Regions from separate parts of the Homo sapiens genome. Here regions 1, 2, 3 and 4 are each linked to region 5. The links are contacts of gene promoters, found by promoter capture Hi-C in blood cells and fetal thymus (Javierre and others, 2016). All regions are on one chromosome and are shown on one strand. Each heading gives the region's core, a stretch centred on a gene start or on the middle of the fragment in contact. The rest is flanking DNA. Distances are from core to core; before and after follow the strand shown. Region 1 has its middle 12 kb from the start of TRH. Region 2 has its middle 23 kb from the start of TRH. Region 3 has its middle 31 kb from the start of TRH. Region 4 has its middle 34 kb from the start of RPN1. Region 5 holds the start of EFCAB12 (EF-hand calcium binding domain 12).

What was found. Contacts are between HindIII fragments. The CHiCAGO score rates a contact against its expected background, and 5 or more counts as called.
Region 1: a contact is called between a fragment that was not itself captured here and the fragment with the promoter of EFCAB12 in region 5, in 1 of 17 cell types (M0 macrophages). The highest score is 5.5, in M0 macrophages.
Region 2: a contact is called between a fragment that was not itself captured here and the fragment with the promoter of EFCAB12 in region 5, in 2 of 17 cell types (M2 macrophages and M0 macrophages). The highest score is 6.1, in M2 macrophages.
Region 3: a contact is called between a fragment that was not itself captured here and the fragment with the promoter of EFCAB12 in region 5, in 1 of 17 cell types (neutrophils). The highest score is 5.2, in neutrophils.
Region 4: a contact is called between a fragment that was not itself captured here and the fragment with the promoter of EFCAB12 in region 5, in 2 of 17 cell types (naive CD4 T cells and activated CD4 T cells). The highest score is 6.0, in naive CD4 T cells.

Annotation. Positions count from the first base shown.
Region 1 is chr3:129,961,631-129,964,330 of GRCh38, forward strand. No RefSeq gene overlaps it. Among named protein-coding and RNA genes, the nearest start is that of TRH, 12 kb to the right of the region's middle. The HindIII fragment of the contact is 3,782 bases long and covers 1-2,700 here.
Region 2 is chr3:129,995,950-129,998,649 of GRCh38, forward strand. It overlaps the pseudogene LOC124906284 and the pseudogene RPS17P9. Among named protein-coding and RNA genes, the nearest start is that of TRH, 23 kb to the left of the region's middle. The HindIII fragment of the contact is 3,275 bases long and covers 1-2,700 here.
Region 3 is chr3:129,942,614-129,945,313 of GRCh38, forward strand. No RefSeq gene overlaps it. Among named protein-coding and RNA genes, the nearest start is that of TRH, 31 kb to the right of the region's middle. The HindIII fragment of the contact is 3,757 bases long and covers 1-2,700 here.
Region 4 is chr3:128,615,400-128,618,099 of GRCh38, forward strand. No RefSeq gene overlaps it. Among named protein-coding and RNA genes, the nearest start is that of RPN1, 34 kb to the right of the region's middle. RefSeq lists enhancers at 2,421-2,700, 2,504-2,700. The HindIII fragment of the contact is 2,303 bases long and covers 205-2,507 here.
Region 5 is chr3:129,427,233-129,429,932 of GRCh38, forward strand. EFCAB12 (EF-hand calcium binding domain 12) reads right to left here and starts at 1,404. Exons shown (of 9, transcript NM_207307.3): 1 at 1,208-1,404. The coding sequence starts at 1,256. RefSeq lists a silencer at 1,541-1,590. The HindIII fragment of the contact is 3,479 bases long and covers 735-2,700 here.

The sequences.
Region 1 (2,700 bases), core at 162-2,661, 530 kb after region 5:
GTGGGTCTGCAGGAAAAAAAGGGAGTCTTTTACCCTCAGCCAGCCCCACACCTCTACCTGCCCATAGTGCTCCTGGCTGAGTGCCCTACCTGCTCTTCGCTGGCCTTTCCAATATTAATCACCTTCCAGGCTCCTGATTAGCCTCACCTCATAGTTCAGGCTTGACTGGGCATCTCCTGTCCGTGGAGACTGCTTCCCCCATAGCACATGATCAGTGCTATGTGTCTTGACACATAATTGCTCTTTAATTGTTTCTGCTGTTTTTTGTTTGTCTGTTTGTTTGTTTTTCTTGTCTCGCAGCTTCCCTATGAGCTCCTTGGGGCAGGAAACCAGTTCACTTCTGTCTCACTCACTCACTCATTCATAGATTTACTCATGCATTTATTCACTCCCTACTCACTCTTCCACTCAGTCACCTAAAGCGTATTATCCTTAAAAGTGTTTTGGCCTCCCCTTGATGACCACATATGAATGAGACCAGAGAAATTACCCATCTTTTGAAAGTCCAGGTGAGATATTGTTCACAGGGCTAGGCTGAGTCCCAAGGCCCTAGCCTTGATCTTGATTTATCTCCCAGAGACACATGAGACTTTGGGTCACTTCCCCAATGGGGACACTTCTCAGGGAGAACTGGAGCTCCTTCTGTAAGGTGCAGAATAGGTTTATTATTATTATTATTTATTATTATTATTATTATTATTTTTTGAGTCGGAGTCTCACTCTGTCACTCAGGCTGGAGTGCAATGGCACAATCTCTGGCTCAATGCAACCTCTGCCTCCCGGGTTCAAGCAATTCTGCCTCAGCCTCCCGAGTAGCTGGGATTACAGGCGCCTGCCACCACGCCCGGCTATTTTTGTATTTTTAGTAGAGACAGGGTTTCACCATATTGGCCAGGCTGGTCTCAAACTCCTGACCTCAAGATCCGCCCGCCTCAGCCTCCCAAAGTGCTGGGATTACAGGCTTGAGCCACCGTTCCCGGCCATTATTATTATTTTTTAAAGTAGCTGGGCCTTGGTGAGCCAGCAGGCAGGACAAAGCTCCCTGAACCCTGCCCCTTCCCTGCCAGCTGTACTTTCAACATCTGAGAGAGTGTATAACATGGTGATTTAGAGTCAAAGACTTGGTCTTCCACCTGATGACCTCGGGCAAGTTGCCCAACCTTCTGGGTCTCAGCTTTCTCATCTGTAAAATGGGATTAACTGCAATACTCACATCATTCAATTTTATGAAGATTTAATGTAATAATACATGTAAAACACTTTGCATAAGGACCAGAATGTAGTAACCAATTAGTGTTTGCTGAAAATTTTAGGTTATTATTACCAGTATGTAAATATTATTATCATCCTCATTTTACAGAAGAGAAAACTGAGCCCTAGAGATGTTAAGTGATGTACCTAAGGCCTGCAGTGAATCAGTAGCAGAGCTGGTACTCAAGCACAGGCCTTCAGAGTTTGAGGCAGAGGCTAAGGCCAGGGAATGTGGCTCCCTTTTCCTGCCCTGGCATGGAATAAGCCATGGCCCAGCCATGGGATCCCTTCACATCTTTGAGTTTCATCTGTTAGTCATTAGGTTGCAAGTGACAGAAGGGGTAGCTCAAACTGAGTAGAACAAAAAAGTAATGTATCAGCTTCTGTAACTGAAGAGTCCAGTGATATGTTCAAACAGTGTCATGGAAAGCCAGTTACACTTTCTGGTTCAATTAACTTTGTGGTGGCATCATTCGTAAGCAGAATCTTTCCATGAGGTAGCAGAAATAGTGCCCAGTAGTGCTTGGCTTGTACCCCTACACCCCAAGCATGAAAGAACACCTCTTCCCACACCGTTTCAGCAAAAATCTCAAGTTTGAGTTTCATTGGCCTGGCTTGGCCATACATCTGTCCTTGAACCAGTCCCTGTAGATGGGAGATTCACACTCTGATTGGCTAGGCCTGGGGCACAAGGATCCCAGGGTGGTGCTAACTCCACATAAACCAACAGGCTAGAGAGCAGGGGAAGGTAAGGACCCCTTGGAAACCCGGGGTCCTGTTATAAGAAGGAAGGGGCCTGGAGGCTGAACAGACAAAAATAATAGTTACCTATACAAATGGGAATAAGACTTTCACATTTCTTGTGAGAATTATTTGTGATCATGTGGAGAGCATTTCTTTCATCTTTGGGCCTCTAAGTGGGACTCTTTTTTTTCTTATCGTCCTTGATGTTCATTTGACCCAATTGTATCCCCTTGCCCTTCCCCGTCCTCAGATCCTTCTTCCAACCTCTTCCCCGTCTCAATCTCTCTTTCCTGAAATCACAGCCAGGATTTGAGTCCATGACTCCCCTGAGGCCCCAGTACAGAGGAGGAGGCCTTATCAGTCAGGATTGGTGACAACAGAACCCAACTCCAGCGAGCTTAGCTGAAAAGGGGGATTTGTTGCTCATCAGGAAGACCAAAAGGTCAGGCTTGAGAGCAAAAGGAGGCCCCTGCAGGGTCCAGCTGGGCAGCAAGGACTTCTCAACCGTCTTGTTCCTGTGCAGCTGCTGCTGTGCTGCAAATGTCCCTGCAGCAAATCTGCCATCTCTCTGCTGGAGAGTCTAGGTCCCAGGAAACAGTGGGAGCCACAGGACCACTGCTTGGCCCTGAGAGGTTGGACAGCATGGCGGGTATCCTACCAAGGCTACATGTAATGCGAGGAAGGAAAAGGCAAAGAAGGAAAGAG
Region 2 (2,700 bases), core at 11-2,510, 570 kb after region 5:
CAGGAGGACTGCAAGGAGAAATCCAGTCTCAGATAGTCCAGAGAAAGATGGAAGGAGAGGGGGTTTATCTACCTGGATCCCTCCTGTCTCCTGGGTCTCATTAGTCAACCTTGGTTCTGTGGCCAATGAACGATAAATTCTTTTGTACTTCTGGCATCATTTGGTCATTTTGGGGGCTCTGAGGTCTTTCCATCCCACACCCTGTGGGGTGTGTTTCAAATACGGATGTAAGTCTTATTATTACTCAAGTACAGTGAGACCAACAGCTCAGGAGACGACTGCCACAGAAAAGAGTTTGTTACTCACAGGTCCCAAGAGGAGGGGGCATGCCATGCCAGGAAGAGCCACAAGGAGAGGCATGAGGGTCAATCAGGAGGCAGAGGGTGTGAGGGGCAAATGGGGCAAGATCCTTTACTTTAGTTTCCAGGTGAGGCAGGGTAAACAGGCTTAGGATTGGCTAGATTGAATAATTTCAGCAGGCTTTGGGGCATAGCGGCTGACCCTAGATGCTTGGTACCTGGCCCTGGAGTGATTAGGGCAGGAGAATAGTGGCCTGGAGTGAAAGAGCCCAGAGATAAAGGGGGTGGTGCGGGTGGGGGCTGTGCATTGATTAGTTTGCATGTTAAATGCACACTTACAGGCCAGTCCTTTACTATCTCTTGGCCATCCCTGGGAGGAGCAATCCCTCCAGGGTTACCAAGACCCCAGATGTCAAAGCATCAGAAACATAGAAGATAGAAAGGTATCATTAATACAGGGAAGAACCAGAAACTCTGGGCATGAGCTGGTGGATCTAGCTGCACTGTGGTGGCCAAGGGGGAGGGTCCTGCACACCCAGCAGGGACAATGTCCTCTGCCTATTGCGACTTCTTTGACCCAGCTCCTCCTACTCTCCCCTCATTCACACCATCCTCCTTAGCCTCCTTGCTGTTTCTGGAACATGCCAGGCAACAGGGACCAGGGCTGTAACTTTCCAGATCATTTTCTCTACATTTGTACACAGCCACATGCACATATATTTGCACACTATTGTCTCAAGACTTTTCTGATACCACCGCACATCTTAGAGCTGTCCTCATGTCAGTCGTTAGATATTTCCCTTGTTCTTTTTAATCACTATAATGGTTGACGCATGGGTGCATCAAAAGTCACTTATGCACACCCCTATGGATGGATATTTAGGTTATTTTCAGCACTTCCTGATTATAAACAACGCCATCATAAGCAGTCTTGCTCCTGTCTTTGTATAGACATGCGAGTTTCTGTGGGATAGAACACCTACAAGCAAAATTGCTAGGACAATGGGCATGGGTAGTTAACATTTTCACAAATACTGCCAACTGCTCCATAGAAAGCCGCTCCCAATTTATACACCCACCCATAGTGAGTGAGGTTTCAGAGAACTCATTGCTCCACACCATTTCCAACAACAGCTATTTTCAGTGATTAATCTTTTTGAAATCAATCTATTTTTTCTTTTTCTTTTTCTTTTTAGAGGTGGAGTCTCACTCTGTCACCCAGGCTGGAGTGCAGTGGTGAGATCTCAGCTCACCGTAGCCTCCACCTCCTGGGTTCAAGCGATTCTCCTGCCTCAGCCTCCCGAGTAGCTGGGATTACAGGTGCACCCACCACGCCCGGCTAATTTTTTTTTTTTTGAGACGGAGTTTTGCTCTTGTTGCCCAGGCTGGAGTGTGATGGCGTGATCTTGGCTCACTGCAACCTCCACCTTTTGGGTTCTAATGATTCTCCTGCCTCAGCCTCTTGAGCAGCTGGGATTACAGGCATGCGCCACCATGCCCAGCTAATTTTGTATTTTTAGTAGAGACGAGGTTTCTCCATGTTGGTCAGGCTGGTCTTGAACTCCTGACCTCAGGTGATCCACCCACCTCGGCCTCCCAAAGTGCTGGGATTACAGGCATGAGCCACTGCACCTGGCCTTAATTTTTGTATTTTTAGTAAAGACAGGGTTTCACCATTGTTGGCCAGGCTGGTCACAAACTCCTGACCTCAAGTGATATAGCTTGCCTCAGCCTCCCAAAGTGCTGGGATTACAGGTGTGAGCCACCACGCCTGGCTGAAATGAAATCAACTTCCTTCCTTCCTTCTTCTTTCCTTCCTTCCCTCCCTCCTTTCTCCCTTTCTTTCTTTTCTTTTTCTTTCTTTCTTTCTTTTTCTTCCTTTCTTTCTTTCCTTCTCTTTCCTTTCTTTTTCTTTCTTTCTGACTTTCCTTCCTTCCTTCTTTCTCTTTCTTTCTGACTTTCCTTCCTTCTTTCTCTCTTTTTCTCTCTCTCTTTCTCTCTTTTTCTTTCTCCTTCCTTCTTTTCTTTCTTTCTTTTCCTTCTCTTGCTCTGTTGCCCAGGCTGGAGTGGCTGGCACGATCTTGGCTCAAGCCAATCTCAGGTTCAAGCCATTCTCCTGCCTCAGCCTCCCAAGTAGCTGGGACTACAGGCACGCACCACTATGCCTAACTATGAAATCAGCCTATTTCTGGTAGCCACTCTATTTGATTCCAAAAATGGCTTGAAGCAGTTTTTACTCAAAAAAAATACCTGAAGTTCCTCTTTTGCAAGGATCTGCCAACATAGGCCATGTCTGCCCTCAAACCATGAAGAAGGCATCCTGGTCATCACCAAGAAGTACTACATTCACCTGGGCAGCAACTTCCACACACACACACAAGCATGAGTGCAAGGAGATCAC
Region 3 (2,700 bases), core at 84-2,583, 520 kb after region 5:
AGTGGGTGCAATCAGGGCAGGCTTCAAGAAAAGGACAGGCCTTAAAGACTGGCAAGATTTGGATAGAAACGGGAGGGCCCTCTGGGAGGGAGGCATGGCTTGAGCAAAGGTTTGCAGAAGGAATGAGCTTCATGGGAAGTGTGTCCTTGCCTGAGGCAGGGTGACAGTGTCTGAAATTCTGAAACACGTCTCAAGACATTGTTTTAGTCATGATCAAGTAACAGAAACCCACCTCAAATTGAGTTAAGAAAAAAAGAGGGCCCGGTGCAGTGGCCCGTGCCTGTAAACCTTACATTTTGAGAGGCCGAAGCAAGAGGATCACTTGAGCTCAGGAGTTTGAGGTCAGCCTGGGCAATAAGGTGACACCTTATCTGTACAACACTTTTAAAAAAAAATTAACTGGGTGTGGTGGCATGCACCTGTAATTCCAGCTACTCGGGAGGCTGAGAGCGGGGGATTGCTTGAGCCTGGGAGTTCAAGGCTGCAGTGAGCTGTGATCACACCACTGCACTCCAGACTGGGCAGCAGAGTGAGGCCCTAACAGTTAAAACAATAAAGAAAAAAAAGAAAAAATGAAAAGTTATTCCCTCATGTAACTAAAAAGTCCATCAAATGATGTCATCATGCATCTGCCTCTCTTTATCTCTCAGCTCTGCCTCTCTCTGTAGTGATTCTGTTCCAGGCCACCTTCCTTCTCCCAGTGGCAATGTGGCTGCCCACAGCTCCAGGCAGACTCCCTAAAACAACTTAGCCACCACCAGCAAGAGACGACCTCATTCACAGTGACTCCACAGACATCCTGGGGATCACTGATTGGCCTAGACTGTGTCATATGCCTATCCAGAAGCTAGTTGCTGCAACTCTCATGGATATGGTCTCAGTCACAGGCCACCTCTGGTATGCAGATAGATCTGTCCACTCAATGCCCCTGGACTGATATTGGGGTTGGGGGTGGTCTCCAAAGGAAAGGCAGGGTGGTCTCAGAAGATGGGACAGTGAGTGCTGGGCAGACAAAAAGAAGAGCGGTCCCAACCAGGTTTTCACCCGAGGAATGATGAGTCAGTAACTGTGGAGCAGGGCGGAGTGGGGCATGGAGTTTATTCTAGCTGTCTGTCTGTTCATTTGTTTGTTTAGCTTTTATTTATTTGTTTTTAATTTTTAATTAATTAATTTTGAGACAGAGTCTCACTCTGTCGCCCAGGCTGGAGTGTAGCGGTGCGATCGCAGCTCACTGCAATCTCCGCCTTCCAGGCTCAAGGGATCCTCCCGCCTTAGCCTCCTGAATAGCTGGGACCACAGGCGCACATCACCATGCCCAGCTAATTTTTGGATTTTTAGTAGAGATGGGGTTTTACCGTGTTGGCCAGGCTGGTCTCAAACTCCTGGGCTCAAGAGATCTGCCTACCTTGGCCTCCCAAAGTGCTGGGATTACAGGCATAAACCACCATGTCCGGCCAGTTGGTTTAGCTTTTAAATGTGAATGTGTGTGAGTGTGTGTGTGTGTGTATGTGTGTGAGTATGTCTGGGTGAATGTGTGTGTGAATGTGTGTGTGAATGTGTGTGTCTTCCAGTGTGCCTTGCCTCGATGGCTGCAGCCTGAACTCACTTAAAAAGTAATTCATGGCAGCTACCAGGTACCAGGAACAGTGCTGGAAGCCGAGAGCACTGCAATGAGCAAAAAAGATAAAGTCCTTGCCTTCCTGAATTTACATTCTGGCGGGAGAGACGGATAAAAACAGAGACCATTAAATACACAATGTGTTAGGTAACAACTAAGAGAAGGTTGGTCGGTATGTGCACAGGTGTGTGTATGTGTGCGTGCCCATATACCCATGTGTGTCGTGTGTGTGCATGCATGCATATGTGATGTCCTGTGCAGGATGGCCAGGAGGAGGAACATTTAAGCAGGGGTCCAAAAGAGGTGGGTAGTGAGCCAAGCAAAGATCTGGGCCCAGCAGTCCAGGTGGAAGGAACAGCAAGTACGAAGGCCCTGAGGCAGGAATGGGCATGGTGTTTTCAGGTATCAACAAAAGTCCTCTGACACTGAGCTAAGGGGAGAGTGGCGGGAGGGAGGACAGAGGAGTACAGGAGGCAGGTGGTGGTGCAGGGCCTTGCGGGCCACTGTAGGGACTTTGGCTTTTACTCTCCCCAAAACAGGGAGCCCTAGGATGGTTCTGAGAAGTGAAGGGACGTGATCTGACTTCGGTTTTGAGAAAACTGCCTGGCAGCTGTGTAGAAAGTAGATCACAGGGGCCAGGGCACAAGCAGGGCGGCTGGAGTGGAGGCTGCTGCAGTTGTCTGGGTGAGCGGTGAAGGCGGCTGGACCAGGGTGGCTGCTCTGGAGGTGCACGGGTGGGTGGAACTCCAAATGTATTTTGCAGGATGAGCCAATACAATTTGCTGATGGTTGGGGGTGGGGCATGATAAAAAGAGAGGAATCAAGAATGATCCAAAAGTTTTTTTGCCTGAGCAACTGTTAGGTTAGAGTTGCCTTTTCCAGAGACAGAAAGATTACAACAGAAGCAGTCGGCAAATATTTGAGAACATACTATGTGCCGAGGTTACACCTAGAAGCATGGCAACCTTGTCTTGGAGCTTGGCAAGAGAGACAGACAAGAACCACTGAACAAGTAGGTAGAGGAGAAAATACCAGCTGGTAAGAAGGGCCACTTAGAGCAACAGAACAGGGTGATGGGAGTC
Region 4 (2,700 bases), core at 106-2,605, 810 kb before region 5:
AGGACATTTATAAAGTCCACTGCACTCAGTTGAAGATATTTGTTGAATGAATGGATGTGCTGCCTCTGTTTAAACTCTGCTGAAATAGAGCACCCAGTGTAGGGAGGCAAACAGTCCATTCCACTTCAGAAAGCAGTGTCCAGTAGTGTAAGGTAGGGACATCTCAGCCCACCTGGAGAATAGGGAAGGCTGCCCAGGAGGCGAAGCTTGAACAGGTCTTTGCTGATCTCCTCAGTGCTAATGAAGGCACAGTCTCTCAGGGCTCTCCCATGAGATCACTGCCTTAAGCCCTCAATCCCACCCAATCCTGCTCTACTGGGATCTATTCACTGGCCCCTTCTCTCCTGGATCTTCAGCCTTTATGTCCCTGTTACCTCCTTCCTTCCCATCAGCATTTGAACAGGCTCCTGTCCTTCCCACTGCTACAGACTGAATGTCTGCATCCCCCCAGAATTCTTATGTTGAAACCTAACCCCCAATGTGAAGCATTAGAGGGTGGCACCTTTGTGAGGTGATTAGGCCATGAGGGTAGAGCCTTCATGAATGGACATTAGTGCCCTTATAAGATACATCCGAGAGTTCCCTCATCTCTGCCACCATGTGAGGACACGAGAAGGTGCTATCTTTGAACCAAGCAGCAGGACCTCTCAACACCAAATCTGCCGGTGCCTTGATCTTGGACTTCCCAGCCTCCAGAACTGTAAGAAGCAAATTTCTATTTATAGCTACCCAGTCTATGGTATTTTGTTATAGCAGCCTTAACAGACTGAGACACTCGTCTTAAATCTTTCTGGATTCTATCCCCTGAGTGGAAGTCAAAAAAGGAGTCTGGGCTCCTCCCTCCCCACCAACCCCCACAAGCAAATCCTTCAGATGCTGCGATGGACCCTCCTGATGGCCCTACCTTCTGACTTGCCTTTCCTGATGCCCAGCACTTCTGCTGTCTGCTCCCTTCTGTGTCCCCTGCATTTAGTCCTGGGCCTGTCACACCACATATGGAACTAAGGGCCTGATGGAAGCTGAGACCCTAAAGGGCTGGGCTGGGGGCACCATGAAGGGGTTGGCCATGGTAGGGGACAGGCTGCATCATTCAGCTTTCGCTTCAGGTCTAGCCCAGTTTGAAGGTTCTCTCTTCCCTCCCTGTCATCTCCCACACCTGCCCAGGCAGGTGACAAAGCAGTCCCCAGATCCCAGGCCACCAGCCCCAGAACCAGGCCAGAGTCCCAGAGTCAGGCCCAGCTTCAAAATGGCGCCAGGCCTCATCCAAAGCATCAGGCCTTTGCAGAGGGCCCTGGGGTACACTCGGGGGCATTTCCTGTCTGAGCCTGCGGCCCCCAACCGCTGGCAGCATGGGCTTCCGGCGGGGCTGCGGCCGGGGCCTGCACTATCAGCTCGGCACCAGACGCCCGGTCAGGATACTTGTGGTGAAACTGTGAGGGCGCACTGGGTCCTTTGGGGTTTTCTCCCATGACAGCCTCCAAGACAAATGGAAGAGAGAAAGTGACACCCAGCCCTTCTTCAGCCGTGTTTTCCCCTCCCTGAGCCAGGGTCCAGGTTCAAGGCTGGGGGACTGCCATGAGGCCACCTATGACTACAGGGACATCCCAAAGCTGCAGCCATGGAAGCAGCCAGGGCCAGGCCACTAGGGTCAGGCATCTTGGCCAAGGCTGGACAAAAGGCACTGTGGCCTGGGGATCTGAATGGGAGTGGGAGTGGGTGGGCCACTCCTATACGGCCACATGAGGGCCACAGAGAAAGTACGCTGGGTCTGAGACTGAGAGGTGTCAGGTGTCTGGGGCATGTCACCTTGCGCCAAGGGATGCCCAGCCTGAACCTGGCTTTACACCTAGGGCCCCACTTCACCTCCTCCCTGAGATTTACAAGGGGGAAACTGAGGCCCTGTTTACTACTGGGGAAACCGAGGATCAGGGAAGCGCAGGGCTGCGCGTGGCGTAGGGCGCTCTGTCCCAGCAACCAAAGGATGTAAGCCCGTAGGTGGGGAGGGCAGCACCGGATGCCCCACTGGGCCCAGGGATGCACCCACCACAGGATGCTGGGGGAGCCACCGGCCTTGGCCAGCCCAGCTAGCCCTGTGGCTTTCCAGGGCAGCTGAGAGCCCAGGTCCCCATGGCTAAGCCCCTCAGCAGCCCAGTGGTCCTGAGCCCGCCGACCCCAGACCCAGTCCTAGTCCGGCCAGAGGAGGCCGTTTACGAGCCCACACCCGTAGGTGGCGCCACAGCCGGAGAATTGGCTTTGGTTCTGTTGGAGCCGCGCCGCCTTTAAATTAGCCCCACGCATGCGCGACTTTTCTAGCCCGAGCCCGCCGTCTGCGCCTGCGATTTCGCCCATACTCCCCGGTGCCCGCCTCGTGACGTGCCGCAGTGTTACGAAGGGACACCAGGGCGCAGGCGCAGCTCGCTCCTCAGGCCTGCGAGAGGCCCGCCGGCCCAGCAGAGGGCGCCCACCAATCTGCACGCGGGCCCAGCGAGTTATCTTGATTTCGGCCAAGCTTTCTGACTGCTCCAAAAAACGAAGAAAAAGATTCAGGGAGAGTAAGAGGATGAAGAGAGCTGGTGAAGCAGCTGACCAAATGGCCCGAGGTGGTATGCAGCCGCGGTAAAGCAGGGCCCCTCCGTGAGGCACAGCCGCCCGGGGGTTCCCTAGGGGAAGCAGGGGCTGCGGCAGACGCCTCTCGGGCAG
Region 5 (2,700 bases), core at 154-2,653:
TCCTGCCTCAGCTTCCCATAGTGCTGGGATTACAGGCGTGAGATACTGTGCCCAGCTACTGACAAGGATCTTAAACTCAACCAACCAAGACTGGATTTGTCTTTGTGCCCCTTCCCCCACTAACTGGGTCCTCTGAGTACGTTCTCTTATCTCTGTGGAAGACATCTCCATCTACCAGGTCCCCCAGCTGCCAACTTGAGAACCATCTTTATTTGCCTCTTCTGTGTTTCCTGACCAACCAGCCCCCAAGTCCCGTAGTTCCCTCTAGCCTGGGCCTTCTCCCTCACCTCCCAGCATCTTTAGCTTGGGCATTTGACCAGAGCCCTGACCTGTGTGCCTGGGAAAGGTGGCCAGCCTCTCCAGCTCTCCCTGTTTCTCCACTGGGCATTAATGTGTTCAGTGCTGGAGAAGCGGCATGGAGAAGACCTTCAGTCTTCAAGCTTTATAGCCCCCAGCTCTCATCTCCCCACACCAACATTCTGAGTCTGCCAACTCAGTCTCAGGTCTTTTCTGACTGCTCCCAATCCAGTCCTGCCACTCCCAGTGGCCTCTCCATCTCCTGGCTTGCAGTATCTTTTATGATCTTGTCCCTTCTGACCTCTCTCACCTCATTTCCAGAGACACCAGACCTCTTGGGTCATGCTGTTTCCTTGCCCGAAATGCTTTTCCTTCCCCTTTTGGCTTGGAGAACTCCTTTTTATCCTTTAAGCTCCAGTGTAAAGATCTTTTCCAAAAGCTTGGAACTGTTCCTCCCCATCCCATACCCTCAGCACACCTTTTACTCCTGGGTGTCATCCCTGGGCCCGGCATTTACCCCTTCTTATTCTGTAATTATCCATTTATCTCTGTCCTTTACCCGTGAAGCTGCATTGCTTTGCCAAGAACTTGGTCCCCAGCACATTACTGCCAAAACCTTGAAGACTGACGTCTTCTCCATGCCTCTCCTCCAGTACTGAATACATTAATGTCCTGCAGAGAAACAGGGCGAGCTGGAGGGCTCCCGTCACATGGGTCGGGCCTCTGGTTCCTCCAACTAGGCTCAGATAGAAATCTCAGAAATGTACATGACCTGCCCCCGACTCCATGGCAACCCTTCACCCAGAGGGGGTCGGCACAATATCTGTGGCTGAGTTTTTGCCCTCACCCCACTTTCACGCGTCCTTAGGGCGCTGAGCGCTCCCTGCAGACGCTTCTTCCCGGGGCTTACCGAGCAGCGACAAGAACAGACTGTGGTACGCTTCATAGTCGTCGTCCATGGTCGTGGTGCTGGGAGGGGGTGCTGAAGGGCGTGTGTGAATGTGTGTCGATGTGGGCTTGCTTGCGTAGGGGTACCGGGGTATCAGATAAACCGTAACTCCAAGTCGTGCGAAAGGCGCTCAGCTCAGACTGCAGAAGCAACCTGTTGCCGTGGCTACGGACGCCCCGCGCCAATTGGCTGAGCGCTGTCACGTGTTAAGAGCGAGCCCGCCCTGCCGAGCGCCTGCTGGCCCCACCTCGTTTTCGTCCAATTCTGGGAGGGGCAGCGAGCAAATCCACGCCCCGCCCAGTTCTGGGCTTGGTGAAAGGCGGGATTTCTTTGTTCGGCCCAGTAGTCCCTGAATCCAGTGTAGAAAGTCTCCGGTTTTCCCGTGAAATGTGGGATCTTCCGCAGGTCTCCATATCTCTAGGCCTCAGTTTTCTCATAGGAAAAATAGGCCCTGCCTCCTCCAGAGGGTTAGGAAGAACCAAAGTGAGCTGTGGCCAGATAGAGGTGTTGGGTATGTTCTGCCCCGCTTATGGCAGGGTGCCATGGTTTGGAGTTACAGAACCTGAGGACCAGAGAATAATAATAAACCCTTGAAATGTGCATCAACTGATAAGCAAAATGAGGTATATCCATAGGATGGCCATAAGAAGGAATGAAGTACATGCTACAATATGGATAAACCTTCAAAACAGTATGCTAAGCAAGAAGCTAGACACAAAAGGCCACGTGCTGTATGATTCCATTTATGTGAAATGTTCAGCATAGACGAACCCACAGACACGGAAAGTAGATGAATGGTTGCTAGGGGATGGGGTGAGTAATTGAAGTGACTGCTAACAGGTGGAGAGATTCTTTTTGGAGTGGAAAAAAGAAATGGAAACTTCTGGAATTAGTGATGATGGCTGCACACTGTAAATGTACTAAACCACTGAACTGTACACTTTAAAATGGTTAAATGGTGGCTTTTAGCTCAATTTTTAAAAAGTTAAAGAGAAACACCTAAGCCCTTATTCCTTTGCTGAGACAAGCTATCTTTGTGACGCTTGCAAACAGATTGTTGCCATGGGCCACATTCACACAGCACTCTTGCAAGCCAGGTACCATTTTAGCACTACATGTCTGAACTTCATAATTACCATCATTGTGTGAGGTAGACACCACTATCCCATTTTTAAAAGACAAGTTAACAGGTACAGAGGTCAGGCAACCTCACCTGCAAGAAACAGGAAAAGCCAGGCCTAGAGCCTGAGCAACCTGGCTGTGTCCTGAGCTCCCCTGGTGCAGAGCTCGCCTCCTGCATTCACACGGGCCCACACTCCCCATGGAGATGCTGGGGGAAGGTATGTGACCACCAGCCCTACCACAAAGCCACACCTGATGCCCTGAGCTTGGTGAGCTCGCCCCACCCTCCAGGCCCAGCTGGGCCCAAGGTTTCAGAGGCCCCTCTCCACCCT